Regions from separate parts of the Homo sapiens genome. Here region 2 is linked to region 1. The links are contacts of gene promoters, found by promoter capture Hi-C in human tissues and cell types (Jung and others, 2019). All regions are on one chromosome and are shown on one strand. The core of a region is centred on a gene start or on the middle of the fragment in contact, and the rest is flanking DNA. Distances in the headings are between cores, read along the strand shown.

Region 1 (5,190 bases), core at 1-2,500:
CCGAAATTCTTCAGACCTGATGAAGAGGTGTCCCAGAAGCGGGTGGTGCTCCAGGCCCGCCTCACCAGCTCCAGGGAGGTCAAGGTTGGAGAGAGACAATTCTAGGGGCGAACCAGACATAGCCAAGAGCAGCTCATCTTCCCTGGAGAGGACGGGCTGCCCACTTGCACAGCCCGGGGGCCTCCTGCCCCTAGACCTGGTACCTTCACTCTTGTTGCCACCCCTACATTCATACCTGCGCCCCAGTCTGAGCCACACCTAGGCCCCCAGCTGAAGTGACACTGTGGGTGCCAGGCATCTGAGGTCTCCACAAGCCCCCACAGACTCAGGGTGGGAATTCCTGGGGGCCAGAGCTGCAGAGGGTGCTGCCTGGGGGTGCTGGGCTGGACGGGGGTCCTGGTTGTCCCTCCTGGTTCTCCTGGTTCTCCCTCCGCAGAGGGAGGGAGGCGGTGGCCTCAGCAGTTCCTCCAGCAGCGTTCCTGAGCGGGCGGCAGCTGGGCCCTCTTCCCACAGCCACGCTGGGGTTGCCATGCCTGCAGGTCTTGGGGCCCCCTCCCCCTTGATGAGGTCCTGACCAAATGCAGGAGGAGCAATTCCAGCACCGAGGGGCGAGCAGAGCCGCCTGTTAGCACTCCTGGGAGGGCCCGGAGTGGTCCCTGAATGATGGATTCACCTGGAACATTTTCACCCTCTTCAGGCCCACCCTGCCCCAGAGGCCCACGGAAACCCTGCCTGTACTGGGGCCGCAGCGCTGCCCCCACCCATACGTAATTACACGGCTCGGTGTAATTGCAAATTCGAGGTTTACAAAGCCTCCCCCTGGAGGCCCCACGTGAGTGTGAGCGAGGCCCCAGCCCACCCCTGTGGCCCCAAGAAGGCTCTGCGACAAAATATCCATGAGTGCCGCCCACGAAGGCATTAAAACCAACGACCTTCTCAAAACTTAAGCTGTCACAGGACATTTCAAAGGGTGTTTCCTAAGAACACCTCAATAATGATGTTCCAAGGAGACCCCATCCAAATTCCTCCAAGGATTACGCCCCCAAGGCCCAGTCCACACTTGCTCACTCCCAGGACGGGGAGCTCACCTCCTCCTCCCCGGGCGCCGTCTCCTCCACATCCCACACCAGGTCCTGCCCATGACTTTCCCCCTCTCAGCGCCGTCCTCAGTGGCCACACCAAGAACGAGGCCATGTCTTCCTGGGAAGGGCCTCAGATGTCAGCAAATGCCCTGGTGTCTTGGGCTGGGCTGGGGGCACCAGGGTGAGGTGGTGGGGGGAGCCAACCTCACTGCCCCTCCCCTTCCTGCCTGCCCTTCTTCCGGGGCACCCAGCAGCTCGGTCCTAGGGCGATGTTGACAGACAGACAGAGGGGCGGATGCAGCCTACCTCCTGGGCAGTGAGCTGCGGTCTGAGGCCCCTGCCCAGCTGGAAACCACAGGGAGGGGAAGGGAGGGGAGGAGAGGAGAGGAGAGGAACCGTCATGGGGCCTTGGAGTCGAGTCAGGGTTGCCAAATGCCAGATGCTGGTCACCTGCTTCTTTATCTTGGTAACAGGCAGGTCGGGCAGGAGTGGGTGGTGGGTGGGGGTGAGCAGGGGTGAGGGGTGGCAGGGCCTCAGCACAGGGATTATCCCTCCCCTGACACACACACCAGCCCTACTGTCCCTGTCCTGCCCTTGCAGACATGTGTCCTGCCCTTGCAGACAGCCGCAGGCAGGCAGGGACCACCATGAGCAACCCCGTCTCTCCTCCTGAGGGGCAGCACAGAGCCTGGAGGAGGCCTGAGTGGGGCTGAGGCCTGGGGCGAGCTGGGGTGGAGGGGCACTGGCTGCCGGGCTCCAGGGATCTTCTCCCCTTCCTGCCCCGGAGGGTGCTGGCACAGGGGTGGGGCTCACTCCCACTCCGTAGACACAATGATCAGAGGTCCTGGGTGTCTGGGGAAGCTGGGCTGTGCGTGTATGCGTCTACCATGTGGGGGTGCCTGTGAGTGTGCTGGGGCGTCTGCAGTGAAGGCCTCCTGAGACCACTCCACGGAAACACCGGGAATCCCTGCAGCTGAGCCTGTCTCTCACGGGACCGGGAAGCTGGAGAGAGCCCCAACCCTGCCCGCTGGGGCCGAGCTCCCTGCTCCTGCAGCAGTCCCATGCCCCACACTCTGAGTCTGCCCTATCCACAGCTGCTGGGCCTCTCTGTGGCCACCATGGTGACTCTTACCTACTTCGGGGCCCACTTTGCTGTCATCCGCCGAGCGTCCCTGGAGAAGAACCCGTACCAGGCTGTGCACCAATGGGGTAAGTGAGGTCCAGGCCTGGCTGCATCGGGAGGGGCCTCGGGTGCAAGGGTGGCTGGCACGAGCCCAGCTGGACGCCTCACAGCCAGAATGGTGCCAGGCCCTAGGCAGGAGCCAGAGGTGGTCAGGGGCAGGGAGGGGCTGCCCTGGAGTCCTAGCTCCCCTGGGCAGGGCCTCGGGTCTGGGTGACAGCCAGTGTTCCTGCCTGGTTCTCGTGCCCCACAGGAGCGTGGGCACAGTGTGGGTATATGTCGGGCAGGGTCAGGAAGTGGCTCTGTGCGGTCAGGACCTGGCTCTGTGCAGTCAGGGCTCAGTCCCAGGCAGGCCTGGGACTGGCCTGGGGCTGGGCACAGCAGGTCCATGAGGGCTCCACATGGCTGATGTTCCACTCAGGACCTGGGATGTGGGTGGGGAGGGGGTGGGGGCTGCTCTAGCCAGACGCCTCCCTGCAGGGACTCAGCAGCGACTTATCCAACATCCAGAGAGCGGGAGCGAGGGCCAGAGCCTGCTGGGGCCACTCAGGGGTAAGGCTGAGGAAGGCCCCTTTAATGAGGGGATGTCAGAGCCAGATCTGCAGGGGACTCTCAGGCAGGAGCTCAGGGGGCCCAGGAAGGCTGCAGCCCGGTGGGCAGATGTAGGGAAACTGAGGCCCAGGAGGTCAGGGATACTGCCTTAGAACCCAATGCTTTTCCCCAAGTCCTAGGACCAGGGCCTCCCTGGAGGAGGACGCCTGGGGCCCAGGTCCAGGTCCGGACTGATAAGATTACAGCTCCAGTCCGGCCACTTGTCACTAGGACATGGCAGGAGGATGCCTGGGGCCCAGGTCCAGGTCCAGACTGATAAGATTACAGCTCCAGTCCGGCCACTTGTCACTAGGGCATGGCAGGGAGCATGTGGCTTCCAAGATAGCCCCACAGGCATGGAGGGCAGGGAGGAAAAGAGGGAAGGAGGGGCAGTCCCCCAGGCTGAACGAGTCCCACCTCCCTCCTCCTTCCCTCAGGGCCGTCTGATGGAGAGACAGGCCCATTCAGAGCCCCCCAGGAGTCCCTCACGGCCCCTGACTCCCAAGTTAGATTTCACACCCAGGCTGTGTGCACTCAGGACCTGTCCTGGGCACCCCTAACCCTCCTCCTCTCTCCTCCCAACCAGCCTTCTCTGCGGGGTTGAGCCTGGTGGGCCTCCTGACTCTGGGAGCCGTGCTGAGCGCTGCAGCCACCGTGAGGGAGGCCCAGGGCCTCATGGCAGGGGTGAGTTCATTGTGTTCCCAGATGCCCAGGCCCCCAGAAAAGAATTAGAAAGGAGTGAAGAGCTGGCAGGGCTGTGTGCCACCCCCACACCTGAGTGACCAGGCAGAACCAGAGGCCCCAGGGATGCTGGCCAGCCGAGACCCCCACGTCAACCCCACACCTGAGTATCTAGGCAGAAACAGAGGCCCCAGGGATGCTAGCCAGCCGAGACCCCCTACCTGGGTAGCCAAGGCCCCTCCACCAGGCCCTACCTCACCCTGTCATCTACACGCCCAACAAGGGTTCCTATAGGAGCTCTGAAAGAGAGAGACGGCCCTCCTGACCCTGGGAGCTGTTTCCAAAGTCCCTGGGAGGGTCTGGTTCTATTGCCCAGCAAGCTCTGGGAGGGCACTGGGAGCATCCCATTTCCTGTTCGGAGGAGGCCGGGCCAGGCTCAGGAAACGCCCCTTGAGCTCTCCAGCCTGGGCTCTCCGGAGCTGCACACTCTCCTTCCCAGCTGCCGGAGGTGTCTCCCCAGCCCCGAGGTCCCATAGGCCCCTCCACCCCACCCCATAGCAGTGGCCTCTTGTCACCCTCATTCCTACTCCTCCCCATGGGCTTCTGTCTTGGTCCCTGCCACTCGATGGTCATCGCAGACCCCACCTGGCGGCAGCCTCCCCACGCCTGTCCTGCCCCTGCTAGGCCCACAGCCCTCTTCTCTCACCCCAGCTGGGGCAGCTCCTCCCTGGCGCCCCGGGCTCCCACCTGTCCCTCTAGCCTCCCGTCTCCCCTTTCCAGCCATGAGGAGCTTGTGCTGGGGGCTTTGCTTCCCTGTTTAGCCTGTGAAGCTGGACCACTCTGGGGGTCCCTGAGGGCAGAGCCTCCTGGGTCCCCAGGGCTGGCAGGGTTTTCAGCTCAGCCTTCAAGTTCAGCAAATGCTTGTTTAATGACCCTGGTTTATAAATGTCTCCAAGAATAGGAATAGAGTCACCTCCTGGAGCTGCTGCCGGGCCAACCAGCCCTGGGTGGGCCCATGGTGGGCAGAGGAGGACCCAGCAGCTCCAGCACTAGCCAGGATTCCTGCTCCGGGGCACACGAGCATGGGCAGGGACAACCCCGGCCTGTGCTATCTGGCTTCAGGGCCAGGTGGGAGGCCCCAGTGGGGAGATGACAAGGCAGGTAGTCTGCCCCCCCCCCCAGAGGGTGTGTGGCCTGCAAAGGGACACCTGGATGGAAGAAAAGGTTGGCAACAGGGCCAGGCCAAGGGGTCCAGGTCAGAGCTGGAGGCCCAGAAAGAACCAGCGCTGGGGCTGCAGTACCGTCCACCAGGGGGTGCCATGGTGCTGGGCTTGAGGCCACATATGCAGAAGCCAGCCGCTGGGCCACGGGGCTCCTGTCCCAGTCACCAGCCTTTCCCACCCCACCTTGCCCCCGTGCACAAACCAGTCTAGCACCCTCATCTGTGGCCAAGGCGGTCAGGGAGCACCTGGGCTCAGGTTCTGTGTCCCCAGCCAGCCCCAAGGCCAGGGTGACTTGACATGTGGGTCAGGCCTGTAGAGCAGCCTTGGAGGCCCCCAACTGGATGCCTGCACTGGGCTGGGGTCCTGAGGACACTCCAGTCCCAGCTGGGTGGGCTCCAGCACAGCTCCCAAGCCCCAATGCACTTAGACCCAG
Region 2 (7,775 bases), core at 1,906-4,405, 57 kb before region 1:
GGCAAAAAAATCCAAATTTGAGAAAACCTATAAACACACAAATCTAAAAATTTTAATGAGTCCCAGCATAAGAATCACTATCACTAAGAAAATTACACTAGGGAAGATAATAATCAAATTTCTCAAAATCAGTATTAAAAATAAATCTTAAAAGCAGCCAGAGGGGGAAAAAGACACATTACATACAAAGAAAGAAAGAAAGATAAGAGTGACATTTCTTACCAGAAATAAATCAAAGAATAAAAGGGTGAGCAGCATCTTTAAAATAGGGAAAGCAAATAAATTGCCAACTGGAATTCCCTATTCAGTGAAAATATCTTCCAAAATGAAAGTGAAATCGACTTTTTCAGATATACAAAAGCTACAAGAATTAATTGTCAACTGACTTGCACTGTAAGAAATGTTAAAGGAACTTCTTCACGCAGAAGAAAAGTGATATCAAATAAATATATGGATCTCAAAGCAATAAAGAGCACAGAAATGATAACTACATGGGTAAATATGTACTTTTTATCTTGCTATTTACATATCTTTAAAAGATAATTATAGTTGTAACAATACCAAAATAATTCAAGATGTTAACAATAGAGTAAACTGAATGTGGCATAGACTGGGAACTCTCTGTACTAACTTTACACATTTTCTGAAAAGCTAAAACTATTCTAAAATAAAAAATTTATTTAAATATTAACTTAATAATGAGAAACAATATAGTGTGAGGTTTATAATATGCAAGTAAAATGCAGGACAATAATAGCATAAAAGTGAGGAGGGAAGAAATGGAAATATACTATTGTAAAGTTTTTATGCTATGTATGATGTGGTCAAATATCACTTGAAGAAAGACTGATAAGATAAATATATGCATTAGAAATCCTAAAGCAACCACTAAAATAATGAAACAAATGGCTATAGATCATAAGCCAACAAAGGAAAGAAAATGATATCATGAAAAATACTCAATCTGAAGAAAAAAACAGATGAAGCAAATATAAAACAAATTACAAAATAATGGACTTAATTCCAATTATATCAACAATTACATTAAATATAAATGATCTAAACACCTTCATTAATATACATAGATTGTTGGGTTGCATAGAAAAAGCAAGACCCATAAATATATATATGCTGCCTACCAAAAATACACTTTAATTATAAAGACATAAGTAGGTTAGAAGTAAAAGAATTTTAAAAAGCATAAGCAAAACTAGCACCAATCAAAGCCAGAATAGCTATGGTAATATAAGGGAAGCAGATTTAAAAGCAAAGAATATTACTGGGACAAAAAAGGTCATTTCATAATGATATAAGAGTCAGTCCATCAAGAGGATTTAGTAATCAAAATGTTTATACACCCAGTAACAGAGCCTTAAAACAAATAAAGCAGAAAACTGACCAAATTACTAGGAGAAATAGACAAATTCACATTATAACAGGAAATTCAATATTCCTCTTTCAATAATAGAACAAGTAGACAGAGAATTGGTAAGGATATAAGAGACTTGAACAAAACAATCAACTTGATTTAGCTGACACTAATAGGACGCTCCACCTGATAACAACACAATACATAATCTTCTCAAGTGCACAAGGAGCATTTACTGAGACAGATCTTACTATGGGCCATAAAACAAGTCTCAGTAATTTCAAAAGGATTCAAGCAACACAAAGTATGCTCTCTGACCAAAAAGAAATTGAATTACAATTCAAAATTAAATTCAAAGTTAACAGAAAGAAGGAAACAATAAAAATCGAGAAGTAAATCAAGGAAACAAAGCACAGGGAAAAATGAGAAAAAAATCAATAAACCAAAAATGGATTCTTTTTGAGAAAATCAATCAAATTGCTGAACTTCTACCAAGATTAATCAGGAAAAAAAAGACAGAAACTGCCAGTATTAGGAAGTAAGAGAGATGACATCATTTACAGATTCTACAGATATCCAAAGGATAATACGGGCTATTACAAATAACTTTATTCTGATAAATTGACATCTTAAACAAAATGAACAAATTCAATGAAAGACTGAAATTACCAAAACTCATACAAGAAAAAATAGATAACCTAAATACACTCACAAACACAAATTAAATTTCTAGTAAAAATTCTATTCACAAAGAAAACATCACAGCATCACTGGTAAATTTTACCAAACATTTAAAGAAAAAGGATACCAATTCTAGAAACACTCTTTCTAAAAATTAAAGAAGAGGGAATACTCCTTCACCATTTCTATGAGACCAGGATTATTACCCTGATACCAAAAGTAGGCAAAGACATTACAAGAAGAGAAAACTAAGGCTAAAACCTGTCATAAAAATAGATGCAAGAATTCTAAACAAAATTTTATCAAATCAAGCCTGAAAATATGTAAAAAGGATAATATCTCATGATCAAGTGTGGTTTCAGAATACAAGGTTGGTTTAACACTCAAAAATCAATCAATATAAATTTTCATATTAATGAAACTAGAAAAGGAAAAGCATATTATTATCAATATACATATGTGCACTGGTTAGGGTTCTCCAGAGAAACAGAACCAACAGGGGTGTGTGCGTGTGTGTGTGTGTGTGTGTGTGTGTGTGTGGAGAGAGAGAGACACACAGAGAGAGAGAAAAAGAGAGAGAAAATCCAAAATCGGCAGGGTAAGTGGCAGACTGGAGCCCCAGGAAAAAGCTGCAGCCCAAATCCAAAAGCAGTCTGCTGGCAGAATTCCTTCTGGCTTAGAGAAAGTCAATCTTTGTTTTGTTAAGGCCTTCGTCAACTGCTTAGATGAGGACTATGGTTCAAGCTTGTCCAACCTGTGGCCCATGGGCCACATGCAGCCAGGCACTGCTTTCAATGCAGCCCAACACAAATTAGTAAACTTTCTTAAAACATGAGACTTTTTTGCAAAATTTTTTTTAGCTCATCAGCTATCATTCGTGTTAGTATATTTTATGTGTAGCCCAAGACAATTCTTCTTTTCCCAGTGTGGCCCAGGAAAGCCAAAAGATTGGACACCCCTGGTTTAGATGTTTGTCCCCTCCAAACTTCATACTGAAGCTTGATCCCCGATGTTAGAGGTGAGGCCTAATGGGAGGTGTTTTGGTGATGAGGCCAGATCCCTCCTGAATAGATCCTCCCTCAAGGATGAGTCAGTTCTTTACTGGTTGCTGTTTATTAAAAGAGCCTGGCATCTCCCCTTCTTTGCTCGCTCTTGCTTTCTCTCTCACCATGATGCAGATGCCCAATCTTGAAATTTTCGGCCATAAGAATCATGAGCCAAATAAATCTTTTTTCTGTATAGATCTCCAGTCTCAGGTATTTCTTTATAGCAACACAAAATGAACTAAGACAAGGACCCTGCACATTGTGGAGGTTAATCTGCCCTACTCGGAGTTCACCAATTTAACATTAATCTCATCCAAAAGTTACCTTAGCTGAAGCATCTAGAATAATATTTGACCAGACATCTAGGCACAGTAGTCCAACCAATTTGATACATAAAATCAACCACCGCAATGCTAAGAAAAAGTATCTAACAAACAATATACAATATCCTTTCCTGATAAAAACTCTCAGCAAATTAGGAATAAAAGGGAATTTCTTCAACCTGATAAGGAGTATCTATGAAAAACTTACAGCTAACATATTTAATGGTAAACGATTGAAAGCTTTCTTCCTGAGATGGGAAACAAGGTGAAGATATCTGCTCTACCCAGTGTAATAAGAAAATAAAAAGAAACAAATACACCCAGATTGGAATGGAAGAAGAAAAACTGTCTTAATTTATACAAGAAATGATTGCCTATGTAGATGGTCAAACAGAATCTACATGAAACACACAAAGAACAATCAGACATTGAAATTTTACTAGCATAAAAATGCAAAATACTGCGAGAGAAATCTAAAAAAATATGTACAAGTCTGGTGTACTGAAAACTATAAAACATTCCTGAGAAAAAACAAGTAATACCCAAATAAATAAAGAAATATACTGAGTCCTAGATTGAAAGACTCAGAATTATTATCAGGATGTCAGTTTCTGACAAATTCATCTATAGATTCAACGTAATCTCAATCAGCACCCCAGCAAGCTTTCTGTAGAAACTGACAAACTGATTTTAAAATTCCTATGGAAATCCAAAGGACCTACAGTAACCAAAACATCTTTGAAACAGAACAACATACTTAGAGGACTTACTGTATCTGATTTCAAGGTTATAAAATTATAATAATTAAGACAGTGTTCTACTGGCATAATGATAGAGAAGTAAATCAGTGGAACAGATCAGATAGCCAAGAAATAGACTCACACATGAGGACAGCTAGTTTGACAAAGGTGCAAAGTCAGTTTAATAGAGAAATTGTATCTTTTCAACCAATGATGCTGGAACAATTGGATATCCACCTGCAAAAAGACAAAATAACTTTGACCAATTCCTCAAGCTGTATTCAAATTCATTAATGTAAAATGAATTAGTAACCTAATATAAATGTAAAACTGTGAAACTGTTAGATGAAAACATGGTGGAAAATCTTTGTGACCTTAGATTAGTCACAGAAAGGATATGACGGCAAAGGCACAATTCATAAAAGAAAGGTGGCTAAATGGAATGTCATCAAAATTTAAAAATTCCACTCTTTTGAAAGGCAGTCATAAGAGAATAAAGAAAGCAAGCCATCAGCTGATAGGAAATATTCACAAATCATATTACGATGAAGGACTTATATCCAGAATATTCATTGCATATTCTCTGTGTATTTTCAAAAATGAATAGTAAGAAAACAACCCTATAAAAATGAGCAAAAAAGATATACAGATATCTCCTACACACTTGACCAAAGAAGATATATGGATAATAAATAAGGTCATGAAAACATGCTCAACATCATTAATCATTAGGAAAATGAAAATTAAAAATCGTAATGAGATATCGCTACACACCTATTAGAATGGTTAAATTTTCTTGCTTTAAAACTGATCATACCAACTTTTGGCAAAGGTAGGAGAAACTGTAATTCTCATGCACTGTGAGTGGGAAGATTAATGGTACAACCCCTTTAAAAAATGATTTGGTAGATTCTTAAAAGGTGAAACACACACCGGCCGGCCATATGATCCATCCATTCCACTCCTAGGTATTTATTCAAGAAAAATGAAAGCATTTGTCTCCACAAAGACTTGTTCATGAATGTTTATAGCATTGGATCATAGATAGCCCAAACCAGAAACAATCCAAGTGACGCCTAACAAGTGAAGGTATAAGCAAATATACCCATTCATGTTATTTATCAATAAAAATAAATGAACGATTGATACCTGCAACAATATCAATGAATCTCAAAATAAGTATATGGCATGAGATAAGCCAGACAAAAGAATACATCCTGTATGTGTCCATTGACATAACACCGTAGAATGCAAAGAATACCTGATAGAAGGCGGATCAGTGGTTACCTAAGGCTGGGGAGGAGGGGTGGGAGGAAGGGATTACACAGTTGTAATTTAATTACGAATTTAAAACTTACAAGAAATTGTTGACGGTGATGATGGTCTCACTGTTGTACACATATGTCAAAATTCATAAAACTCTGCATTTTGGCCCAGTGTGGTAGCTCACGCCTGTAATCCCAGCACTTTGGGAGGCTGAGGCAGGTGGATCACCTGAGGTCAGGGGTTCCAGACCTGCCTGGCCAACGTGGTGAAACCTCATCTCTATTAAAAATACAAAAAACTTAGCCGGGCGTGGTGGCACGCACCTATAGTCCCAGCTACTCAGGAGGCTGAGGCAGGATAATTGCTTGAACCCTAGATGCAGAGGTTGCATTGAGCCGAGATTGCACCACTGCACTCTAGCCTGGGCAACAGAGAGAGACCTATCTAAAAAAAAAAAAAAAAAAAAAAAAAAAAAAAAACAAAAAAAAACCTCTATATTTTAAATATGTGTAGTTTATTGTATGTCAGTTAGCCCCCAATAAACCTATAACTTCCCAGGGGAAATGGCTGAGATTGATGCCACCTTCAAAGAGTTAAAGAAGGCCTAGGTAGTAACCCCCACCATCTCTCTCGTGATTTCCCCTCTCTGGCCTCTCTGCAGACTGGCTGAATCAGAATAGATGATTGCAGACCTCAAACTCAACCAAGTAGCAACACCAAATGGGCTGCCAGGCCAGATGTGGTATCTTCGTTTAATCTTAGATTAAATTAGATTCATTTAATCTAAGATTAAATTAACACTGCCCCTGGTACCCGGTATCAGTAGCTACGGATTCTGTGAATGAATTCTCTTCCATCTCATCAGGAGAGAGTGTGAGAAGCAATTTGCATTCGCACAGGAGGGACAACAGTACACAGTCACAGTTTTGCCCCAGGGATATGTTAATTCTTCTGCTCTTTGTCACAGTATAGTCCAAAGGGAAAAGGCCCTCTGGACATTCCACAGATTATCACGTTAGTTCACTATACTGATGGCAGTCTGTTAACTGGATCTGACGAGCAAGCAGGGGAAAGTACTCTGGACGCCCCAAGTAAGGCACACGAGCCAGGCTGGGAGATAAATTCCACGAAGCTTTAGAGGCCTGCTACATCATGATCTTATTACCATGAAGTTATTGCCATAAAATCTGGCAAATCCCATGGTACAAGAGGTATTTGCAATGGAGAAAGACACCACACACACAGAGCCCCTGGAGAACTTCAAAGAAGAGTCATGGCCCAGACTCCTTGGGCTCTGGAAGAAGGCCGTGCAGAGAACGATACCATTCAGAAAGAGGTTCCTGCTCTCCTGTGGGAACCTCTAGAGAAAGAGTTTCTGGTCATGGACGTTAAGTGACCATGTGGTCAGAGATGCCCATCTTGAGCTAGGATCTGTTAAACCCACCAAATCAGAAGGTCAGGCAAGCCCAGCAGCATCCAGTATACATGGGAAAAGACACCTCCTGGGACTGCGAACAAGCAGAGGGCAAAAGAAAGCGACATAATCCGGGGATCGGAACCCCCACGTCATCTACCAGTGTTGCACTGACACCTCTTCTTCAGTCCACACCTGTGGCCTCCTGCAGAGGTCCCTCTGACCAGCCGATGGAGAAGGAAGGGGCCTGAGCTTCACTCATTGGCAGGTTAGCTAGAAACGTTAGTGAGCCCCCAAAGGACTGCTCCTGCACTGCAGCCCACTCAGGTGGTGGTGATGGTGGCGATGGGGTAACCCTCCCAGGGGGCCGAGCTTTGAGTGCAGGACCTGGTCGTGCACTTGTAGGGAGAGAAGCGAACCAAATCAGTGGTTCTATTTCTAGCAGTTTTAGGCTCTACAGGGCCATTCCCAGAGCGGGACGCTTCCACCGGAAGACGCTATTAAGACAGCTTCCACCTGGTCACTTCGGGCTCCTGGTATCAACAATCTGGCAGAGAGAATGAAGTTCCCATACTGGCAGGGGTAACTGGCTGGGAGCATCATGAGAAGGTATGAATACAGTCATCAATGGGGGCGGGCAGGTGACCCACCAGGGGCATCTCTTGGTGCTGCCATGCACAGATCTTCCCGCAAGTAGCAAGCGCCACAGTGTGAGCATGATAAGGCCATGGTGACCACAGGCTGCTCAAGGTCCCGGCTATCTGACACGGATGGAGGAGGAAGGGGCGGTGGCTATCAGTCAGGGCCCCAGGCAATGAAAATGGCAATGGCAATGGCAGGAGTAGGCACTGGCGTTCATCCCACTCAGCCTGTTAGTGTCAATTTCCCCTGGTGTTGGGACCAATTTGATCCTGGAGAAGCTCTCCTCAGGGGAGC

The links. The method cuts DNA at HindIII sites, captures the fragments that hold promoters and counts their contacts. A contact is called where the count stands out against the background at its distance.
Region 2: a fragment that was not itself captured here is called in contact with the fragment with the promoter of C11orf21 in region 1 in 2 of the 25 tissues and cell types used here (pancreas and thymus).

Annotation. Positions count from the first base shown.
Region 1 is chr11:2,300,668-2,305,857 of GRCh38, forward strand. It overlaps C11orf21 (chromosome 11 open reading frame 21), which reads right to left and starts at 1,251. Exons shown (of 4, transcript NM_001329958.2): 1 at 1,089-1,251. The coding sequence starts at 1,141. It overlaps TSPAN32 (tetraspanin 32), which reads left to right and starts at 1,346. Exons shown (of 10, transcript NM_139022.3): 1 at 1,346-1,548; 2 at 2,177-2,291; 3 at 3,440-3,537. The coding sequence starts at 1,483. The HindIII fragment of the contact is 20,485 bases long and covers 1-5,190 here.
Region 2 is chr11:2,241,374-2,249,148 of GRCh38, forward strand. No RefSeq gene overlaps it. Among named protein-coding and RNA genes, the nearest start is that of ASCL2, 25 kb to the right of the region's middle. The HindIII fragment of the contact is 4,327 bases long and covers 993-5,319 here.